Linked DNA regions of Homo sapiens: all the other regions are linked to region 1. Evidence: promoter capture Hi-C in 16 types of primary human blood cells and fetal thymus (Javierre and others, 2016). All regions are on one chromosome and are shown on one strand. The core of a region is centred on a gene start or on the middle of the fragment in contact, and the rest is flanking DNA. Distances in the headings are between cores, read along the strand shown. Region 1 holds the start of MYOT (myotilin). Region 2 overlaps FAM13B (family with sequence similarity 13 member B). Region 3 has its middle 6.2 kb from the start of HNRNPA0. Region 4 overlaps FAM13B (family with sequence similarity 13 member B). Region 5 has its middle 29 kb from the start of HNRNPA0. Region 6 has its middle 45 kb from the start of HNRNPA0.

What was found. Contacts are between HindIII fragments. The CHiCAGO score rates a contact against its expected background, and 5 or more counts as called.
Region 2: a fragment that was not itself captured here is called in contact with the fragment with the promoter of MYOT in region 1 in 2 of 17 cell types (total B cells and naive B cells); the score reaches 5.8 in total B cells.
Region 3: a fragment that was not itself captured here is called in contact with the fragment with the promoter of MYOT in region 1 in 1 of 17 cell types (M1 macrophages); the score reaches 5.6 in M1 macrophages.
Region 4: a fragment that was not itself captured here is called in contact with the fragment with the promoter of MYOT in region 1 in 1 of 17 cell types (total B cells); the score reaches 5.1 in total B cells.
Region 5: a contact is called between a fragment that was not itself captured here and the fragment with the promoter of MYOT in region 1, in 1 of 17 cell types (M2 macrophages). The highest score is 5.3, in M2 macrophages.
Region 6: a contact is called between a fragment that was not itself captured here and the fragment with the promoter of MYOT in region 1, in 1 of 17 cell types (M1 macrophages). The highest score is 5.5, in M1 macrophages.

What each region holds. Positions count from the first base shown.
Region 1 is chr5:137,866,109-137,869,951 of GRCh38, forward strand. MYOT (myotilin) reads left to right here and starts at 1,752. Exons shown (of 10, transcript NM_006790.3): 1 at 1,752-1,845. All of the region lies in intron 2 of PKD2L2-DT (PKD2L2 divergent transcript), which reads right to left. The HindIII fragment of the contact is 5,979 bases long and covers 645-3,843 here.
Region 2 is chr5:137,987,795-137,991,637 of GRCh38, forward strand. FAM13B (family with sequence similarity 13 member B) reads right to left here. Exons shown (of 24, transcript NM_001385994.1): 8 at 480-521. Among named protein-coding and RNA genes, the nearest start is that of FAM13B-AS1, 43 kb to the right of the region's middle. The HindIII fragment of the contact is 1,871 bases long and covers 694-2,564 here.
Region 3 is chr5:137,758,593-137,762,435 of GRCh38, forward strand. No RefSeq gene overlaps it. Among named protein-coding and RNA genes, the nearest start is that of HNRNPA0, 6.2 kb to the left of the region's middle. RefSeq lists an enhancer at 1-87. The HindIII fragment of the contact is 157 bases long and covers 1,939-2,095 here.
Region 4 is chr5:137,959,502-137,963,344 of GRCh38, forward strand. FAM13B (family with sequence similarity 13 member B) reads right to left here. Exons shown (of 24, transcript NM_001385994.1): 11 at 2,904-2,968; 12 at 665-713; 13 at 115-262. Among named protein-coding and RNA genes, the nearest start is that of FAM13B-AS1, 71 kb to the right of the region's middle. The HindIII fragment of the contact is 747 bases long and covers 1,601-2,347 here.
Region 5 is chr5:137,781,576-137,785,418 of GRCh38, forward strand. No RefSeq gene overlaps it. Among named protein-coding and RNA genes, the nearest start is that of HNRNPA0, 29 kb to the left of the region's middle. The HindIII fragment of the contact is 982 bases long and covers 1,185-2,166 here.
Region 6 is chr5:137,797,474-137,801,316 of GRCh38, forward strand. It overlaps the pseudogene NPY6R. Among named protein-coding and RNA genes, the nearest start is that of HNRNPA0, 45 kb to the left of the region's middle. The HindIII fragment of the contact is 175 bases long and covers 2,069-2,243 here.

The sequences.
Region 1 (3,843 bases), core at 502-3,001:
TAATCAAACCCTGTTCTCCAGCAGAACCAAATGTCAGTCACATATACCACATTTAAAATTGCTTAGAATAGATAGGCTGGGCATGTGGTTTATGCCTATAATTCCAGTGCTTTGAGAAGCCGACGTGGAGGATCGCTTGAGGCAAGGAGTTTGAGACCAGCTTGGGCAACATAGCGAAACTCTGTCTGTCCAAAAAATTTTAAAATTAGCTGGGTATAGTGCTGCATGCCTATAGCCCTAGCTACTTGAAAGTCTGCAGAGGAAGGATCTCTTGAGCCCAGGAGTTTGAGGCTGCAGTGAGTTCTGATCATATCACTGCACTCCAGCCTGGGTGACAGAGTAAGACCCTGTCTCTAAAAAAAAACTAATAATAAAATAAAATGCTTGAAGGAGTGTCTTACTCATAATAAATGCTATATATTGGCTATTATTACTTTTATCCTATCACTTGCATTTGTATTTTAAGTCTCTCTAATTTAGATGGAAAGGTTTTGTCTGTATTACTGGAATTTGAAATATCAGTGAACAGATGTTGAAGAATATTTTGGGAGACTCCTGAAATAAGACTTTGTAGGCAACCACCTACTCACCAAGTCTAGCATGCTTTTTCTACTAAGGGCTGCACGCCCAGGCAGAAATTATCAAGCTTTCTTTGAACACCAAAGAAAGGTACACCTACTTGGCCAGCTGTGAAGGATTTTATATGGCTCATATGTGCTCAAACATCTATTTGCTGGATTCTAATATACATGTTAATTCAATCAAGATTGGGGTATCTACCCATGAGGGAGGGGAACTGAAGCCACCCCATGGAGATAATTCTACTCCCTTGGCCCAATCCTCATGCCACCTACCCTACTTCACCACATTTGCTGATTCGACATTTTATTCTTCTGCAATTATTTACTTCCCTGCACAAAAATGGAAATCTAAATACCATGATGGTCTCTGTGACAAAAAGTGAAAGGAAACTAACTGTTAGGAATAAAGGGAGATGAACATGCATTGACAGCTCTAATTATATAGATTGCTTATTTGTTTGGTTGTTTCTTAAGTGTTTCAAAACTCTTTCAGAATAAAAGTACTAGGCAAAAGGGGCATATGCCATACAGATTCAGAAAACTTGCTCAAGAAACACCATCATGTTTTTCCACCTCCCTACCTTCCCAGTGACATGTCACTATGACCTCGGTCTCCTGCTTTGCCCAGACTGCCCTCCACCTCGGAACAAACTGCTAGTACTGAGAGACCTCAAATCTATTATTGAATCCTACTCTCATTAGGCAAAAGAAAAAAGACTTCAGATGAAGAATTATGCAATACAAATCAATTGGGAGCCCATCTATCACTGGTCTTATTCCTGGAGAAGTCTTAGTATAATAGATAGAAGAACTCCACTCTTGAAATATTATTTTCCCTTTAGTCCTCTCTCTTAAACTGGGAAAATTCAAAGTCCCCACCATAATAAAGAAATAAGAGGGTTTTTTTTCTATTTTTCCCATTTCCCTATTCACTGCCCTTCCCTCACATGAGCTTGCTAAAGTTCATAGTCAAAATTCACGTCTGAAATAAAGAGGCTTGCAAAAGAAGCTCATGTAATCCCACTCCTTAAATACCACTAAGACACGTGAGATATTGTTTAGATTGTGGACTCTTACTTTGACATGCCAGCATAGGTAGATGGACAGGCAAGCACATCAGATGTCACTGTTTGGCAGCTGATAAAAGTCAGTGGTGCTATAATACTAAGCACAGAGCCACTAGATTAGTCTGTGAGGGAAGGAGATGCCTCTTCCTTCCCTTCAATAGTGGGTTAAACCCAGCTGGCACCCTCTGGAACTACGGGTAAGTCCCTTCTTTATTCCTACTACACTTTTAGGTCTTGTTTTTGTTTTTTGTCCAAATCAGATGAGTGTATACAAAGATGATTTTCAGATAAAAAGTTTGAAAGCCACAACATTATAATGGTATTACACAAAAATTTAAAGAGAAAGCGACTCATTCATTTCATTGAGACTGGAAGGCATTATACAAATGATAGAAGGAAAGATAGCTGTGTGTCATTATTTTTAAATCACCATTTTTCCTTGAAAAGGGACACTTGATCTGATGTAATTGTGGTGATGTCTTATGAACGCAACATATCCTCTATCAGTCTTCTGTGCAAGTCTATGCTATATTAGAGACAGGAAAAAAATGTTAAGATTTTTTAAAAAGGAGACTGAATAGTACTTTATTTATAAAAATCTTTGAAATTCATTTAACATTATTTGGAATAAAATGACCCTGTCATATAACAGAATCTATTATAGAATTAAATTGTTGAACAGTAACTACAAACATAAAGAAAATACAGGATCACCTGCGTAAATGTCTGCATAAAATTTTGACACATGGATAAAATGAAACTTATGAAATAACATATTTTTAATTGGGCTTTTAAAAATATCACTAATTATTAACAATGTAGGCCAATATCAACATGTACAAGACAGTTGCCATTCTGAAAATATATGTAAAGAAAAAAAGAGAACTGTTTCTGGAAAATATCTACTATTTCATAAGCGGTTTATTCCTTGCTATCTGAAATGAGTCTCAATAATGTACCTGCCCAGAAAGAAATTTAGGAATCAAACTCTGGATTCAATTCTGCAACAGACTGAATAAACCGATAACTACAAAACTACTTGCCTTGAAATAGACTTTTTTTTTAGATCTACTCAAGGCCCTCCTTCAGGATGTTTTTCCCCAACAATTTAAATGCCTAAAGTAGTTCATTTCTAAAATGCATTCTAGTTTAATGTATTTGTGTTCATAAACTTGAAATTAAGGAATATTTAACTTTTTAAGTATTCTTTCTCAATAGCGTCTTTCTCTTGGCTGTTTAGTTGCATTTCTGTTTTTTCCTAAAATTGCTAGTTTTAATTTAACTCTAAACTACATAGGCAACTTTGAAATACTATTTTTTGAAGGTATCCTATTATTTAGGATGAAACTCTTTGGTCTGGAAAAGTTTTATTAACATTTTATCCAAGACAGTAACTAAAATAATTAGAAGACTTCGTTTCAATGATGACAAACAATTTGGTTAATTTTTCAGTTAAAAGTTTGATTTGTCATTATCTCAGTATTGGCTTATACCAGATGAAACAAAATAGGCAAATGTATTTTGAATCAATTTATCTGATATTTTCAATGAAAACAGGATTAGTGTGAAAACAATTTATAGGACTAGTCTTTGTGTGTAATGTCTATATATAGTCCCGCTTAGGTTTACCATACTAATGGAAAAAAAATCAGAGACAAATATAATCCTTCAAGGTTGATTTTCATGGCAAATGTTTCATCTGAGAAAAAATGAGGATGTACTGTAGGAAGGCAGGAGGCCCACTACAGAGCTAAGTAGGAGGAATGGCACCTGTCTTTTCTTGGTAAGGTATAGACTAGTTTCATATGTGTCTTATTTACTTCTATGCTTCCTGTTTGCCATTTGAAAAGAAAAAGTAAAAGAGCTAAAGCAATTTCAAAATTAGTCTGAGATCTCCAAAGGTGTGGCAAAAAAAAGAAAAAAAAGACCAAAAAACAAAATTAGTCTAAAATACATACTAAACAAATAATAAAAAGTAAAACTCTAGATAATTAAAAGAACATCAAGACCAACAACTAGGAAGTATAATCTAAAAATAACAGAATTATAAGGTATGATTCTGTTTAAAAATACATAATAAAAACAGAAAAATGTATAAGTGGCTCTGGAATGCAGCCTGTAACATATGTTCTACACAAACATATACACACAGTCACTCCTTAATTAATATCTAGTTTAGTAATATGGTCAATTTG
Region 2 (3,843 bases), core at 379-2,878, 120 kb after region 1:
AATTTACCCAAACAGACAATCATATACAAATCAACCATAATGTCACTATTATTACTGGGATGGGAAAGATCAGTTGTCCCTATAATTCACTCCTCACTACACAGAAAACCACTAAATAAGGCTTTTCAAAGCTATACTTATAAAGCAAAATAACCTACTAACAGCAAAATGAAAGAAACCATGAGTACTGCTCACACTTCTTATGTAAAGTCTACTTTTTTAAAACTTATATTCTATGAACATTTTTCAATTATTTCAGAGGATTCAAAAAAACCATCTGAAGAAAGCTCATCTTTATTTTGTATAGTAATGCAATGGGTTTCTTCTTCATTTGTTCCTATCACAGTACATAAAAAACTAGTTTACTGCCTGTGTACAGTCTTTCCTCTAAAGTGAGCACAAGTACATTATTTTCATTTCTACAGCTTAGTAGTATTTTAAAATCTTAAAAATTTGTCTTCTATAAATATACTACTTACTCTGTAGAGGCTGGTAGGATGCTGATGGGAGATATATGGGTGCTGCAATCAAAGAAAGAAATTAGCTATAAAAATGTTCAATACTTAATAACTACAAAATGTGCTGAAATCTGCCATATTTGCACTACCTTGACACAACCAGGAGAGCACATACTAAGTGTTGTATTCTTGTTTACATATCAAGTTGGAAATATTTTCTGAATCTGGTTGGTAAAGCTTTCAAATATTAACCAAAGAAAATAAATTTGGAAAAACGTATCACTAACAAGACCAAAAATTTTAAAGTTAGAATTCATTATGAGCTAGGACCATTACATGCATTTATCTCTCATTTAATAACTTTCAATACCCAAGGAGTTACAATTATTTCCCCCTTTCCACAAAAGTGAAGCTCAAAGATGTTAATTAACTTGGCCAAATGCATATGGCCATGGGTTGGGTACCCCAAAGCCCCTGCTATTAACAAAGATGCTCTACTGCCTTCTACAACAAAAAAAAGTGACTAAAAACAAAAACACACACCACAGCATGAGCACCTCTCACAGATGATGAACCTAATTTTCTAAAGAAACTATTTTTCACACAAAAAGACCCCCAAATATATATACTTGTGGGGGTGAGAGTGGGACAACTACTTTCTCTGGTGCTCAGGTGGAGAAAAACTGATCTATTTCCAAAGCTGGAGGGAAAATTAGTTGTACTGGATTTAGGTGAACAGTAGTATTAGCCATTGATGAATACAGGTAATTTTTAAAAAATCATTTATCAGATAAAAGATAAGGTATGTTTAAATGGCACTGTGTGCCTAAGCACATCATCACAGCCAACACTTAGCCATAGGGAGGAGTGACCCTGCCTTCTTGACCTGAACACCACATCTGTAGCTACCTTGTCATTTTTTAAACGTAAATTAGTTTTATGAAGATCCTCCAAAATGTGGCAATACAATCTCTAACCAAAATGCAGAACAAACGCTATGAAGTTAGTATTGTCAGGATCCACTGCAGGAAACCAAATGAGTATCATTTACCATTCATTCACTCAGCAATCTTCATGTCTCTCAGTAGCGAAGTGAACAAATGCTTTATCAAACAACAGTAAGCCCTCTTGGTCTGACACACATAACCCCTCCTACATATAAAAATATTTTTTGTTAACTGCCAGTATCATGCTAGTTTCCAATGAATGGATTATTTATGGTTCTAAAGGCCTTCATGCTGATCGTCTCCAGGGAAGTGTTTACCAATATTCACACTTAAAGATTTTTCTGACTAGGTGTAGTGGTTCATGCCTGTAATCCCAGCACTTTGGGAGACCGAAGCTGGAGGTTCACTTGAAACCAGGAATTCAAGACCAGCCTGGGCAACATAGCGAGATCCCATCTCTACAAAAAAAATAAAAATCAGCCAGGCATGATGATGGTGCATGCCTGTAGTCCTAGCTACTTAGGAGGCTGAGGCAGGAAGATCGCTTGAGCCCAGGGAGGTTGCAGTGAGCTGTGGTCGTGCCACTGCACTCCTGCCTGGGTGACAGAAAGACACCCTGTCTCAAAAAAAAGAAAGAAAAATAAAACAACTAAAGTTTTTTGGAACTTCATTTCTGAAATCCAAAAAAGCTGGGGGGAAAAAACCCCAAAACATGGTACAAAGAAGAGTGTAGCCATCATCAGTTTATTTCTAGCGGTTTCCTGTGAGCTAAAAGTTAAATATTTATTGATTTCTGTAGAAAAAAAACAAAAAGTAAAAAGATAAATGAGGCTTTCCCTGAAGAGTCTTAACATGAACTAGGATATTAAATCATTTTCTGATATTTTGCTCTAATACACTATTGCTTACATATTTACATTTCGGTGATCAGCTGCTATTAAATTACAAAAGTTAAATCTTTATGTGGTGCGATCTGTTTTATTTTCCTTGATAATATTTGCAATCTCTACTAAACTTAGATAATTCCTTGCCTATCGAGAAATATTCATTTTATTTTTAATATCTAATTATAATCCACTGACAATGTGGCATACTGAATGGTGTGGGGAAAAATCTATAAATTGAACACTCTTAGCCATTTAATTTGTGATCTCTGGTAAGCTTTTGCTTTATCTTATACCAAATCCTGAAGAAGCTCTCTAATTCTCAACTACTTACTTCATCAGTCTGTTACTAAAGCTTTATATAATGTTTTAATTCTTGGTAGGGCTTATATCCTCTCTGTTCTTTCTCAGATTTGCCCTTGTTAGTCATCTGCTCATTTTCCCAGAGGAATTTTCTCACCCTTTTTTGTCAGATTAGATTATCAATAAAATGTTAGTAGGTAAATGGATACAAGATATTTCATAAAGAATTAAATAACCAAAAAGAAAAATAATCAACCTAACTAGATATACAAGTTTAAAATAAGGAGCCAGGTGCCAGTGGCTCATGCCTCAAGTCCCAGCTACTCAGGAGGCTGAGTCAGGAGGATCACTTGAGCCCAGGAGTTTGAGGCCACCCTGGGCAACATAGCGAGACCCCCATCTCAAAAAAAATAAACAAATAAGGATTAAAATAAAATTTATATATATTTCTGCTGATGTCAATATAGTATATTGACAAAGGCTATGAAACTGGCATGCATGTTGCTAGTGGGAAGGTTAATGAGTAAAAATTTCTTATGGAAATCTATTTAGTAATGCATTTCAAAGAGCTCTAAAAATGTGCACACACTTTGACTCAGAAAGTCTGAGACTCTATCAAAAAGGGTTTATCAAATCTACCACAATTTATCCTAGATACAAAAGGGGAGGATGGATTTTATACCATAAAGTATTCTCTGTAGCATTTTTCCAATATTATAAAACTTCTCAAAAATACAGAAAAGTGAAAATAAACTGTATAAGAACACCTATAGCCCCAACATTTAAAGTCTATAATTAACATTTTACTATATTTGCAGAATTATTTTTAAGAAAGAAATATCAGCAAATGAATATATAAAATGGACCAGGATAAATACAATGGACTGTTGTGAAATCATTGGTGCTCATTAAGATTAGAAAATAATATCAGAAATTGTCTTTATATGTGTAAGCATAAACAACGTGTGCAACTATGTACCAAAATGGCTTCATTTAATAATGTGTTTTTATAACTATAAACAAAGGCAAATATACTAAGCCAGAATTTGGGAGCTCTCTTACAGCATCTCTAGAGCAGGGATGTCATCCATGGACCACTTGTATCAGAATCTCCTGAAGTGACAGTGTTATTTTGTTGGAGATCTATACTTTATCCCAAACCTCAAATACCATAAAGCCAAAGTAAATAAAATAGTATGGCACCCACACAAAAAAATAGGCAGACAGAAAAGAAAAACAACCATCATATGC
Region 3 (3,843 bases), core at 767-3,266, 110 kb before region 1:
ATCTCTGGAGTGGCTCTCATAACTCAAAAATTCTGGCCAGTTATCTACCTTTAGAAAGCCATCTCATTTCTTATACACATCTCACAGAGTTGCGCAAACAGACATTGAGTTAAGGGCATGCACTTTAATGTCATTGATAATTTTAATCACATCCTGTAAAACCTTAAGTTCGGGTGACAATTTTCGGCTACCCGGCATTTCTCTGTAGATGACACAGTGCATAGACTCACATTCAGAAGTGACCTCTTTGACCTGAGTAGTGAAACCAGAAAGCCATCCAGTCATATCAGCCACTCTGTCTGTGCATATACTGACACAAAATGACCAATTCCGTTTTTCTGATATGTAATCAAAGTCTTGAATAGTTCTGCACCTGTGGTGTTGGTTGGCAACAAAAGTGCACATAACATATTCCCCTGCACATCCTCCTGAAAAAGATATGGCACAAAAACAAGCATTGTTGTCTTGTCAACATCAGTAGACTCATTAACCTGGATTGCATACCATGGTGACTCATTAATCCTAACAATTGTGCCCCAATATCCTCTGTATTTCATCACTTTGTCTAGTTATGGTACTAGCCGAAAAAGGAACATGTGTCACCTTTTGAACTTCAGCCTCTCCTAAAAGTTCATGATAAATGTCCTTAGCAGCAGGCAGGAACAATTCTTCACCAACGGTAAAGGGCTTCTTAGCTTTAGCAATGCAGTTAGCCACTAAGAATGATGCTCTCAGTGCAGATACATTTGATGAAGTGGTGGCCTTCAATAATTGCTTCTGGTTTTTTGTTTGCTTGTTTTTGAGACAGGGTCTTTCTCTTTCACCCAGGCTGGAGTGCAGTGGTGCAATCTTGGCTCACTGCAACCTCTGCCTCCTGGGTTCAAGTGATTCTCATGCCTCAGCCTCCCGAGTAGCTGGGACTACAGGTGCGTACCACCACACCCAGCTAATTTTTGTATTTTCAGTAGAGACGGAGTTTCACCATATTGACCAGGCTGGTCTCAAACTCTTGGCCTCAAGCAATCCACCCACCTCAGCCTCCCAAAGTGCTGGGATTACAGGTGTGAGCCACCATGCCTGGCCAGTTGCTTCTGTTCTTTGTGTTCATTTGAAAAACTCAAAAGCCTTGTGTTTTAATGCAAGGTGCTAGGTTTCCATGTGGAGAAGCAGTTTTGAAGGTTTCATGGCTTTGTTGGATAGCCGGTTGCCACATGTTATACAAAGTGGGCTTGTAGAATGTTAATCACTTGTTGCAATGAGCCTGTAATTTAAGTAGGACTCTTGGTATTTTCTTTTAAATGCAGCTTTGTTTTTGATGGAAGTCTTAATGTCTTCTGATGTCTCATCATTCAGTCTGTCCCCCTTGACAAAGAAGCTCTCCAGTGACATTTGTTTTTTACTCATTTTGGCTAGGGTTAGCTTGTGGGCTTACCAAAACTATGACTGAGACAAGTGCATAGCATGGGAAAGAGGCACGGATGGAAGTGGTAAATAAAATAATGGGCAGGCCATGCTCAGACTAAAGTTAAGTGTCAGATTCTGACAGCCTGCCACCAGATGTAGCTGTACAATTGAAGTACATCAATTCACTTGCCACTATAAAGCCTACTGCCAGCCACGGCTTAATTGTCACTTGCCACTCACTGATAGGGTTTTGATATGAGTCTGCGACTTATTATGGTCTCTGTGCAGTCAGACCTCCCTGCTAATGTTAATCTGTATTTGCAGCCACTCCCCCACATTAGCATTACCACCTCAGCTCCACCTCAGATCATCAGGCATTAGATTCTCATAAGAAGTGCACAACCTAGATACCTCACATGTTCAGTTCACAATAGGGTTCATGCCCTATGAGAATCTAATCCCGCTGCTGCTGTGACAGTAGACGGAGCTCAGGTGGTAATGTGAGCCATGGGGAGCAGCTGTAAATACAAATGAAGCTTCACTCGCTCACCCACCGCTCACCTCCTGCTGTGCAGCCCAGTTCCTAACAGGCCATAGACTGATACCAGTCCATGGCCCAGGAGGTGGGAACCCCTGATCTATGCCACCTAAATGGGGATCCATTAGGGTTTTCATTTCTATTGGCTAATAAAGCTTCACAGAGGTAAATGTCAGGTCTAGACACCTTACATACAGTAGGGTATAGGGATGATCAGAGACAATACAAGAATGTTGTAGAGACATTAAGAAAGCCAGGATATATGCAGTATGACTGGAATGTTAAGTTTTTTTGTGTTTGTTTGTTTTTTTGAGACAAGAGTCTGACGCCCAGGCTGGAATGCAGTGGTGCAATCTCAGCTCAGTGCAATCTCCGCCTCCAGGGTTCAAGCGATTCTCCTGCCTCAGCCTCCTGAGTAGCTGGAATTACAGGCATGTGCCACCACTCTCAGCTAATTTTTGTATATTTATTAGAGACAGAGTTTCACCGTGTTGACCAGGCTGGTCTTGAACTCCTGACCTCAGGTGATCCATCTGCCTCTGGCTCCCAAAGTACTGGGATTACAGGCATGAGTCACCACACCAGGCCAGAATGTTAGATTCTTTTTGGAGATTAGATCAGTAAAGGTAGGGACAGTCAATAAAAGGAGTATTATGTAAACACTTAAATGATGCAGTCAATTTCCTACTCTACGTCATTAAGGAGGAAAAACTATTTTTTTCTACTTTGCCTTTTAGATCACTGCCTGAGTTTACTTTGTTTCTTTAACTCGCTTACAGGTGTCTAAGCCTTCCAAAATAAAACACTTAAAAATAAAACTGAAATTTAGACTGCCTTTGGCTTCCATCCCTCCTGCAAGCTTGATTACAAAAAGCTAATGGAATGTGATGGTTACACAAGTCATAGAACCACACACTAAAAAGAGTGTGTTTTAATATTAAATTATACGTAGACAGAGAAAGAATGAACTGAGAAAGAAAGGAAAGACTATGGCCAGCTATATTTCCAGAAAGCAGCAACTGTGATTTTTTAAAATTAGCTTTTTATTGGATCCATGTTTGTTTTACAGTTAGGATTCTGCTATGGACTAAATTGTGCACCCCTGGTCCCCACGCTCAAATTCATATATTCAAGCCATAACTCCCAGTACCTCCAAATGTAACCATAATTGAAGATAAGGTTTCGAAAGAGGTGATTACATTAAAATGATGTCATTAGGGTGGGGCCCTACTTCAATATGTCTGGTGTCATAAGAAAGACAACAGGAGCACAAGTGCATAAAGGGACGACCATCTGCAAGCCAAGGAGGAGAGGCCTCAGAAGAACCCCAGACTGCCAGCACTTCATCTTTGACCTCCAGCCTCCAGAACTAGGAGAAAATAAATTTCTATTGTTTAAGCCACTCATTCTGTAATATTTTGTTATGGCAGCACTAGCAAACTAGTACAGGTTCCATTTTTATTTATTCAAGGTGAACATTTCAAAAGGGCATTCTTTGCCACTTGTGGTGAAAGTATATTTTTTCTAGTGGACCCTAACAACTCATATCAAAAGCTTTTAAATTTGGCCCATTCTTTTGAACCAGCAATTACACTTCCAGAAATTTATCACAGCGAAATAATTCAGGACCTATACAAGGATTTAGCTATAAAGATATTTATTTTAATTTGTTTATACTAGAAAAAAAGTTGGAAATGACCTAATTGTCCCAAAATAGCTGTCTAATAAATAGAGAATCAATTAAGTGCTCCAGGTAAGAATACTATATTATGAAGTACTTAAATTGATATTACAGAGGAAAAAGTCATGACTTGCATTTAGATATAAATCTCATAACATCAAGATGATGTATAAAAAGTCACACTATTTATTTTATCAAATCAAATTAAGTCTGACTTAAT
Region 4 (3,843 bases), core at 724-3,223, 94 kb after region 1:
GAAGATCAAGATGAATAAGGTTATCCAGAAAAGGGCTGTAGTCTTATCATTGCTTAGGGTAATTTCGGTTACAAGTAACATTATCAGGAAAATAATGCGTGTGGGTAAAATTACCTTCCCATTTATCACCATCAGAAACATTCTTCAGATCTAAATGTGGAATACTGACACACGCTGCTTCCCCTTGAACACCAACACTCTGACCTCCTGGTACTTCTGATTCAGTGTTGGCATTCAAATCACATATCTTGCTACTAGAATCCTGTATTTTAAAATAAAGAATATATTTCACAACTACGGAAGCTTTTCACACCCAGCTTAAACACATCCAGCACATATCCAAGTGTAGTCTTCATTAGTTTACTGTGCCTATACAGCCAACTGTCCCACTCCCACTGTGCAAACTATTTTCAAATATAAACATGCAGTTTTAGAATATGTCTTATTGGAAGACAAGTTTGGATCCCAAATTCAGGAAAGTGTTTTCACAACCAAGTCTCTTGTAACCAAAAGTGGCAAATTAAGTTGCTGTTTAACTGTAAAATATTTGGTAAGAGTATTTATATTTAAATCTTTAAACCTAGCTAACCCACATTAAAGACCAGACATAACAGTTTAAACCTAGGCAAGTTTTTAAAGACTAAGACAAAAAAATAGTTCTTACCAGAATCAAGTGTGACAATTTATCACTGTCAAATAACAAATATTCTTCCCTAAAAATACAAGTAAAGTTGTTAGTATATTAAGAATAAAAAGGCTACTATCATTATATATTTCTTACCTAGATTCCTCTACTCCATAACACAGTTAGCATTTACAATGTGCGAGGAGAAAATGCCAACTGGACACATGCCCATTCTTTGGAGCCCTATATCTGAAAAATCACACAATACTGAAAAGATCCACAGAATCACTTCGGGTTTAGAAAAATCAAGTAACAATCCCTACTCCACCCCACAAACCACAGCAAAAAAGAAAAACCTTTATAAAATGAAAACTAAAATCCACAGTAAGTAGAAACCCAAAAGAATGAATGTATAATAAAGATTTTATAAAATAAATGTTTTAACCAAATAAACAGCTCTATTCTCTCCATTCTTGAGACTTTCAAAGAAAACTTTTTAAAAAGGTATCACTATGTCTTTTACTTTAAACTTGACTGTATTCTATCACAAGGATACTACTTCCAATCAGAGAAGGTTACTACTTCCAAACCTTTCCCTCCTCAAAATATAACAGTAACATACTAAAAGGAAATTTTAAAAAATTTCAGTCCACCTTTTACTTCCCCAGAAAAACTAACCCTTATTTAGAACAAGTGTTATAGCAAGCTGTCGTAAGTGATCTGTACCTATTTTACCAGTCAAGAGAGCACCTGCTATTATACAGTAGATTATCAATATGCCTACTGGGGGAAAGTTCTTTTCCCCAAAGACACAGTGGCAATTTACAATGACACATCGAGATGTCACTTCTAACCGGCCATAACAGAGTATGCACTCAGGAGACATGCCTTGATCTAAATATTGCAAGTCATCTTCTCATACAGATAATTACCTTATTCTTGCTGAGAATAAGAAATGAACTAAATGCTCTGTTAAGCTTAAAGGCATTCCTTTGCTTAGAGTAGGAGCAAATGGTAGGATGAGTAATTACTACCTTAGCAGCCTAAAAGACCTAATCACCTACATTTGAGAAGCATGAATGTTAAACATACAAAATGTAATCCACCTAACCAAGGTACTCTGGATCTAAAAACCAGTTTGCTAACTTATACACAGTTGAAGTTGAAGAGGAGAGAGCTTTTTCCAAAAACAACAACAACAACAACAACAACAACAACAACAGAAGAGTCCTCACTAAATGGGTCCTTATTGTTCTACCAAATCCAGATGTCACTATTCTGGGGGTGCCTGTTAATGTTGTTAATTTTATATCTTCAGCCCATAGCTCCAATACTTCCTGGGCTGGAAGAGGATGATTCCTGCCTCCTGAAAGGAAGGACAAGGAACTGCTATAAGGAAATCTGTGGACCTTCAGAGTATGGGGAGGCTCCAGAGACGTGGCTCCAAAGAATTTGCTTACCCTTAAAGAACAGGCTTCCTACTTATAATTAAAAGAAACAATAGAATACAAATATGTCCTGGCCAACAGGCTGTCAGCAAATTAGTATACTGTCTGGGATCTCTCAATATTTACAATCTAGCCTGCAACTTCATTACTGAAGTGTTTTCAGAATCTCAAATCACCTTCCTAAGAAAGTTATACTTTTTGGCAGCATCTTGAAGACTGATGCAAAGGGTAACAAGAACCCAAATCTTACTCTGTGATTTAAAACATTCTAGAAAGCTTCTATTCAAAGAGGCTATCTATTGAGACTCTACATTAGTCGAAATACTCATTGCCTCCAGTATTTCTCTACCATTACAGCCAGCCAAAGAGGTTAAAAAAGCACCAGCTGCCTAAGAGTGTACTGAGACACACCAAGGATAAATTCAAAGAGGAAGAAAAACATCCTATACATATTTGTTGAATCAAATACAGTATCTCTCAGTTAGTTATACACAGTTACAAGATCATGAATTAACTCACTGACAGGTATACTCAGAATATCAGTAAATTCCCAATTGTTCCACAATCAACTGAAAGATTTAAATGTCTCCAAAAAGGCTGTTTTTCCCTCTGAATGTTTTCCAAGTTATAACTACTGTCTGAACCTGTACAAATCCAAACATTTATGGGTATTTAATATCCTTTATGCCTACCATTATAACAAGAAGGCTGTTTAAGATTATCTAAACTATATATTTATAATGGACATTCATCTAAAAAAATCACCTCAAAAATCTGTGAAGAGCTCCAATTCTCAAAATGATTAATTAGCAACAAGAAAAAATGCTTACCTCTCAAGACAGCCATCTTCACTATCACCACGGTCACTGCATGGCTCTAACAATATACCTACAGACTGACAAAAAGAACACTACCATGTATTAATGGAGCTCCCAATACTCAGATAAGAGAAGTTGCCAATCTAAATTAGGATATTAGAATACAGATTAGTCAAACACCCCTAATTAGCTATCATTTATAATAGTCTGTAGTACTTAGCATCTCTTTTTACAGAGAGTAATTTATCTTCCCTCAAAACCTGGGTCATATGAAGTATAGCAGGTACTCTGCATTTCTCTCTATTAGGTAATATGTATCACCACTACCATCCTTCTTCCTTAGAATTATCTCCTCCAAAATGATGGTCTTCTGATCCTGCTTGCCAACTGCTGCTTGCTTTATTTCTCCTCAGCTACAAAGATACAAGTTTGGTGACTTCTTGTAGGTAAGATAGGAGTCATAGAGGAGTTCACTAGATTCCTTTGTATATTTGAAGTAATAACTATTTTCCACAAAGAAAGTCCCCACATGAGAAAACTCTCCCATTTTCCAACGAGCTTAGTGACACCATCTCATCCCTATTCCCCCCCAAACTAAAAACCTACCAAGTCTAATACAAATACCCAGAGAATTACTACAAAATACATGAACGTTGTGGTGTTTTTGATGATCACCTTTCAAATCAACAAAAGGTTCCATACTTCCTAGACTCTCTGATTCTTCTTTAGAAAGTAAGTACCACTTGTCCAGCTTTGTTTAGCGTGAAAGAAGGTCCACAAGAATCTGCAAAAAAAGCTGTTAAAATACTAGTCCCTTTTCAAACTACACATCTGTGAGGCTGTCTCATATGCTTCAACAAAACAATGTAACAGCAACAGACTTAAATGCAGAAGCATATACAAGAATCCAGCTGTCTTCTGTAAGTCAAACAGGTATCAACAATATTTCTAG
Region 5 (3,843 bases), core at 426-2,925, 85 kb before region 1:
TTTACCATCTGGAAATGAGAATCACTTGTATCTTCCAAACCTGCAAGTACTGAATTTCTGTGCTCTCTTAATTTCCTTTCAAATTAAATAATTAAATTCCTTTTCTACTTGCAAATAAGCCAATTCTTTTTTGAGCTCATCTCTTTATTGCTGTAAATTACCAAATGAAGCCAATAGTAACTAATTCACCCTACAAGCATTCAGTTTTTCCCAAAAATCTTCCCAAAAGGAAAACTATAGGCCCAGACTCTACCAGCAAGTTCTATGAACATTCAAGGGAGAAATGAGACCAATAATACAAACCCTTTCAGAAAACAGAAAAAGGGAGTATTTTCTCTAACTCGTTCGATGATGCTATCATAACTCTGATATCAAAATCCACTAAGGAGGCCCGGTGTGGTGGCTCACACCAGTAATCCCAGCACTTTGGGAGTCACTTGGGGCCAGGGTTCGAGATCAGCCTGGCCAACATGGCGAGACCCTGTCTCTACTAAAAATACAAAAATTAGCCAGGCATGGTAAGGCACACCTGTAATCCCAGCTACTCACGAGGCTGAGGCAGGAGAATAACTTGAATTCAGAAGGCAGAGGTTGCAGTAAGCCGAGATCACACCACTGCACTCCAGCCTGGGTGACAGAGCAAGACTCCATCTCAAAAAAAAAAAAAAAAAACTCCACTAAGGACAGTAAGAAAAAGGGAACTTACAGGTAAGCTGACTAAAAATCATAAATGCAAATTTCCTAAACAAAATATTAGCACACAGAAAATAGCAATATAGAAAAAGGATAAAAAGGGATAATATTTAAAAAGGATAAAACATGGGTTTGTCTAAATAATACAAAGTTGATTTAGGAGAAGAAAATCAATTAATACTGTTACCTACAATAACAGAATAGAAGAAGAAACATGAACAACCTAATAATGATTGAAAGTGTATTTGATAAAAACAAATATTCAATATTTTTTAAAGACTCTTAATGAACTGGGAAAAAAAAGATAATTTTCTTAGTCTGAAACACTATAAATAAATATTCATGCACAATGCCTGACAACAGGAACTATCACAAAAGACTCTGAAAAAACCACAACCTTGCACAAAGGCCATCAAAATCTTATACAAACAAAAATACTTCTGTGAGGACATTAAGTGTAATATTTACTACAAGTACAGTGAGATGTTTAAAGCTTTGCCTTTAAATAATGCCTGTTAACACCACTTTTATTTAACAGTGTACTAGAGGGCCTAGCCAGCCTAGTAAGGCAAGTATATGAAAAAAAAACAAAACAAGAATAGGAATTGGAAAGAGAAACAAAACTATCATTATTTGTAGATGATAGGATCACGAATGTGAAAAATTTAAGAGTATCTAAGGATAAATTACTAAATTACTGAGACATTTTAGCAAGATGACACAAATTTGCAAAATCAGTTGTATTTCTACACATTAGAATCAAAAAATAAAAAAACTCAAAAATACCAACTATGCTAGCATAACATACATGAAGTACCCAAGAACTGTGAAAGTTGTCAGAATCAAATGAAGTCACATGTGTTAAAGCCTCTGTCAAGAGCCAGGGAAGCCCATGAAAAGAGGGTTCTCACGCACAGTGCCTGATAACAAGAACTATTACAAAAGACCCTGAAAAAAACCACAACTTTGCACAAAGGCCATCACAAACTTATACACAAAAAAATACTTTTGTGAGGACATCTGCCCAGCAACTGCCTGTGCAACCTTTGACTAGTACCACTCTTGTTATTGATCCTTGTAGCCAAGAACAATTGTCTCAGGCAGCTCAGCAAGGCCACTGTGGCCCGACTGCCAGATTTCTCCTCTCTGAGCAGGGCATCTCTGAAAAAAAGGCAGCATCCCAAGTCAGGGACTTATAGATAAAACCAGCGTCTCCCTGGGACAGAGCACCTGGGGGAAGAGGTGGCTGTGGGCGCAGCCTCAGCAAACTTAAACATCCCTGCCTGATGGCTCTGAAGAGAGCAGCAGACCTCCCAGCACAGCGTTCGAGCTCTGCTAAGGGTCAGACTGCCTCCTCAAGTGGGTCCCTGACACCCGTGTATCCTGACTGGGAGATACCTCCCAGTAGGAGCTGACAGACACCTCATACAGGAGAGCTCTGGCTGGCAACTGGCAGGTGCCCCTCTGGGACGAAGCTTCCAGAGGAAAGAACAGGCAGCAATCTTTGCTGTTCTGCAGCCTCTGCTGGTGATAGCCAGGCAAACAAGGTCTGGAGTGGACTTCCAGCAAACTCTAGCAGAACTGCAACAGAGGGGCCTGACTGTTAGAAGAAAAATTAACAAACGGAAAGGAAGAGCACGTCCACTCAGAGACCCCATCCAAAGGTCACCAACATCAAAGACCAAAGTTAGATAAATCCACAAAGATGGGGAAAAAACAGCACAAAAAGGCTGAAAATTCCAAAAACCAGAACAACTCTTTTCCTCCAAAGGATCACAACTCCTCACCAGCAAGGGAAGAAAACTGGACAGAGAAAAGAGTTCGACGAATTCACAGAAGTAGGCTTCAGAAAGTGGGTAATAACAAACTCCTCTGAGCTAAAGGAGCATGTTCTAACCCAGTGCAAGGAAGCTAAGAACCTTGAAAAAAGGTTAGAGGAATTGCTAACTAGAATAAACAGCTTAGAGAAGAACATAAATTACCTGACGTAGCTGAAAAACACAGCCCGAGAACTTCGTGAAGCCTACACAAGTATCAACAGCCCAATCAATCAAGGAAGAAAGGATATCGGAGATTAAAGATCAACTTAATGAAATAAAGTGAGAAGACAAGATTAGAGAAAAAAGAATAAAAAGGAACAAACAAAGCCTCCAAGAAACATGGGACTACGTGAAAAGACCAAATCTACATTTGATTGGTGTACCTGAAAGTGACAGGGAGAATGGAACCAAGTTGGAAAACACTCTGCAGGATATTATCCAGGAGAATTTCCCCAACCTAGCAAGATAGGCCAGCATTCAAATTCAGGAAATAGAGAGAATACCACAAAGATACTCCTCGAGAAGAGCAACCCCAAGACACATAATCATCAGATTCACCAAGGTTGAAATGAAGGAAAAAATGTTAAGGGCAGCCAGAGAGAAAGGTCGGTTTACCCACAAAGGGAAGCCCATCAGACTAACAGCGGATCTCTCTACAGAAACCCTATAAGCCGGAAGAGAGTGGAGGCCAATATTCAACATTCTTGAAGAAAAGAAATTTCAACCCAGAATTTCATATTCAGCCAAACTAAGCTTTGTAAGCAAAGGAGAAATGAAATCCTTTACAGACAAGCAAATGCTGAGAGATTTTGTCACCACCAGGCCTGCCTTACAAGAGCTCCTGAAGGAAGCACTAAACACGGAAAGGAACAACTGGTACCAGCCACTGCAAAAACATACCAAATCGTAAAGACCATCAACACTATGAAGAAACTGCATCAACTAACGGGCAAAATAACCAGCTAGCATGATAATGACCAGATCAAATTTACACATAACAATATTAACCTTAAATGTAAACATGCTAAATGACCCAATTAAAAGACACAGACTGGCAAACTGGATAAAGAGTCAAGACCCATTCGTGTGCTGTATTCAGGAGACTCATCTAACATGCAAAGACACACATAGGCTCAAAATAAAGGGATGGAGGAATATTTATCAAGCAAATGGAAAGAAAAAAAAGCAGGAGTTGCAATTCTAATCTCTGATAAAACAGACTTTAAACCAACAAAGATCGAAAGAGACAAAGAAGGGCATTACATAACGGTAAAGGGATCAATGCAACAAGAAGAGCTAACTATCCTAAATATATATGCACCCAATACAG
Region 6 (3,843 bases), core at 906-3,405, 68 kb before region 1:
AATTATTTCCATTTTTGTGTCTTAACTTATATATTGATTTTTTTCAAGAAAGTTTAAAAATTTTTAAATAGGCATCTCAACTTTTCCCCTTGTATTTTATTTTGAGTTTAAGCTTATTCATTTATTCATTCATTCAACAAATATTCACCAAAGACTTGCTATGTGCCAGAAACTATGCAGGAACACTAAAGATACAGCAGTAAATAAGACGTATTTTTAGCCTTCAAAGAGTTTCCATTTGGCCAGGCAAGATGGCTCATACACCTGTAATGCCAGTGCCTCAGGAGGCCAATTCGGGAGGACTGCTTGAGACCAAGAGTTTGAGACCAGCCTGGCCAACATGGCAAGAACCTCCCTCCACAAATAAAAATTTAAAAATGAAATAGGCAAGGTGGTGCATGCCAGTAGTCCCAGCTACTCAGGAGGCTGAGGCAGGAGGATCACTTGACCCCAAAAGTGCAGTGGCGTGATCTTGGCTCACTGCAACCTCCGCCTCCCGAGTTCAAGCAATTCTCCTGCCTCAGCCTCCTGAGTAGCTGGGAGTATAGGCACATACCACTATACCTGGTTAATTTTTGTATTTTTTGTAGAGATGAAGTTTTACCATGTTGGCCAGGTTGGTCTCAAACTTGGGACCTCAGGTGATCCGCCCTCCTCAGCCTCCCAAAGTGCTGGGATTACAGGTGTGAGCCACCTATTTTCTGTATTTTCTTATATTGTCTACTAATATTTTTTTGAGTCTGTTTTCTCAAATTCTTTCACCTGGGATTTATTCTAGTGTATAGTACGAAACTAAATTAATATTTTTTCTAAGCAGCTAGTTAACTATTCCAGCAACAGTTACTTAATAATTCTTTCCTTCCCTAGAAATCCTTACTGCTGGCTGGGAACGGTGGCTCACGCCTGTAATCCCAGCATTTTGGGAGGCAGAAGTGGGCAGATCACTTGAGGCCAGGAGTTCGAGACCAGCCTGGGCAGCATGGAAAAACCCCATCTCTACAAAAAATACAAAAATTAGCTGGGTGTGGTGGCACATATCTGTAGTCCCAGCTACTCAGGAGGCTGAGGCAGGAGAACTGCTTGAACCCAGGAGGCAGAGGTTGCAGTGAGCTGAGATCACACCACTGCACTCCAGCCTCAGTGACAGAGTGAGACCCCATCTCAAAAAAAAAAAAAAAGCAATCCTTACTGCTTTCACTGTCATATATTAACACGTTATATATACCAGGGTCTATTTCTGTCTATTCCATTCCTTGATCTGTCTGCTAATTCTTGGCCCAGCATTACGTTGATTTAATTATTCACACTTTATAATATTTTAAAATATTTGGTGTTGTTAATCATGCTTTTCATTTTAATTATTCCATTTTTCAAAGCTATTTTCACTTACAAATACTTTATAAGTAATTTTTTATAACCTCTCTTGGGATTTTCATTGAAATTGAATTATATCTACAATTTAACTTGGGAAGAAACAAAATCTTTATAATATTCGGTCTTTCCATCCAAACATTCCTTTTTCCCATTTAATCTTTCTTGAAGGCATTAATGTATTTCCTGGTGATTCTGGAGAAAACAGAAGTATTAATCAGTAGGCTTCCCTTTATATATATACCTTAATTCCTAAGCACACCCAACCTTGATGACAAAGAAGTGTCTTTGAAAAGGAAAAAAAATAAATGGACATTGTGTGTTAGCTCCTCATCGTTTGTTTACATCAGATTATAATAGCTCTCTATGTGTACCTAGGTGAGCAAAAATGTTAACAACAGTGGACCCCTCACCTCAGAACACAGATTTACACCAAACATCCCCTTAAAAGTTTTTTTAAAAATGACTCTGGTTTTGTCATTTCTCAATTTCCCACACTCATTACAGACTTCCTTTAGAATAATAAACAATAAACTCTGTTATTAACTCAAATTTTATGTTTCTACTAAGCGAAATTCTAAACAACAGCAACAGTAATAACTACTATCTATTGAATATCTACTATGTTCTATCATTAATCTTCAAAATAATCCTGCAGGATAGGTGGCTATATTCACCTTATAGGAAAGGAATCAAAAGCTTAGAGAGCAGAGGAGCAAATCCTTCCCTGCTCCGCGTTCAGCCACCCCAGCGATGCTTTATGCTTGTTTTTATTATTTGTAACACTTTGGGAAGTTATTAAAGGAAGATCTATTGCTTCCTCCTTTTGGGGTAGAACTGGATGGCAAAAAATAAAATAAAATAAAAATAAAAGCTTAGAGAGAAGCTCAAGATCACCCAGCTAGGTAATGCTGGAGAATCCAAATTCAGACCTAGCTCTCTCCCACTCAAGCTGACTCTCAAAATCATCATGATCACAGATAACTAAAATGATCTCTTAATATCCACCAAACCTGTGGCACCACTAGCTTTTGCCAATACTCTATATATGGAAAAGGTACTTTCCAATAGCCCTACAATCTTCCAAAGTTTGCTACTCTCTGTATTTTAAATACAAACAGGTAAATAAGTAATGGGACATTGCTAAAAGTTGACTGGGGAAAGAAATACAAGCCACTGAACTGCTTTGATAGTATCTGCTCTTCAGGTTCTTACAGAGGAGGAGATTGGCTTCACGTCCATAGTACACATCCCACTCCTACTCTACCTGCAAGTCCCCCCAGCCAGTGACCCAGCAGGATTCTATAAAACACAGACACACAATGTCAATGTTGTTGACTGCCTGGAAATTTTGAGTTTCTTTAGGGTAGTTTGATGTATTTGGGTAGGGAAACAGGATTGAATCACACAGCCTGGCCCTAAAATGTAGGGTTCTATCACTGAGTCCTTGGCTTAGGAAATGTAGTATTTGAAAATGTTGTGTGCTCATCCACTAGACCATGCCACAAATATTTTCAACCATACTCAATCTTCTACAACCTTGTTTTCTAAAGTCTTCAAACACTCACTATAAGGAAATATTTCTTATATTTAATATAAATCTTACTTTTTGAGTCTTTTATAAATGAGAAGTAGGCCCCTTCTTGTAATAATTTTTCAAATACAGGAAAAGCGCTTTTTAGTCCCCACTTTCATCTATAGTCTATAAGCAGCTCAGCTGTTGTCAGCTCCAAAGTAGTTGATAAAAATCTTATATTTATAATACATACTTGCTCAGAAACTTGGCATTAATTTCAATTTCAAAAGTATCTTCATTAATCTTATAAATTACTGCAAAATCTGGAATAGCACCATCTCTTTTTTTAAACTTTTAAGTTCAGGGGTGCAAGTGCAGGTTTGTTACATAGGTAAACTGGTGTCATGGGCGTTTTTTGTACAGATTATTTCATCACCCAGATATTAAGCCTAGTACCCATTAGTTATTTTTCCTGATCCTGTCCCTCCTCCTACCCACTACCCTCTGAAAGGCCCCAGTGTGTGCTGCTGCCCTCTATGTGTCCATCTCTTAACTAACAGTAAATGCTCTAAGAACAACCATTAATGTTTACTAATAATTTTCCAGGAATATTTAAGTTAAATGTCTGATTTTGGCCGTGCTAATTTAAAAAAAAAATATATATATATATATATACATATATATATGCCAGAAAATGCCACAGATTTTCAAGAGGCACTCTTATTATCATCTCTACAAGATGACTGAAAGTGACATTTTGAAAATATCTTTTAAACAGCTCCACCTCATGTCACTGCTGCTGAGATTTCTGACTCCTCCCTTCCGGCTCTTCAGTGACCTTCAGTGCCCACTGGATTCCAAAGCTCAATCCTCTGTGCAATGATTCCAACTCCAGGGATCAGTGTCTGAAGTGAAGCTACAGATTGTCTGGTGGATAAATAATCCAAGAAGGAACG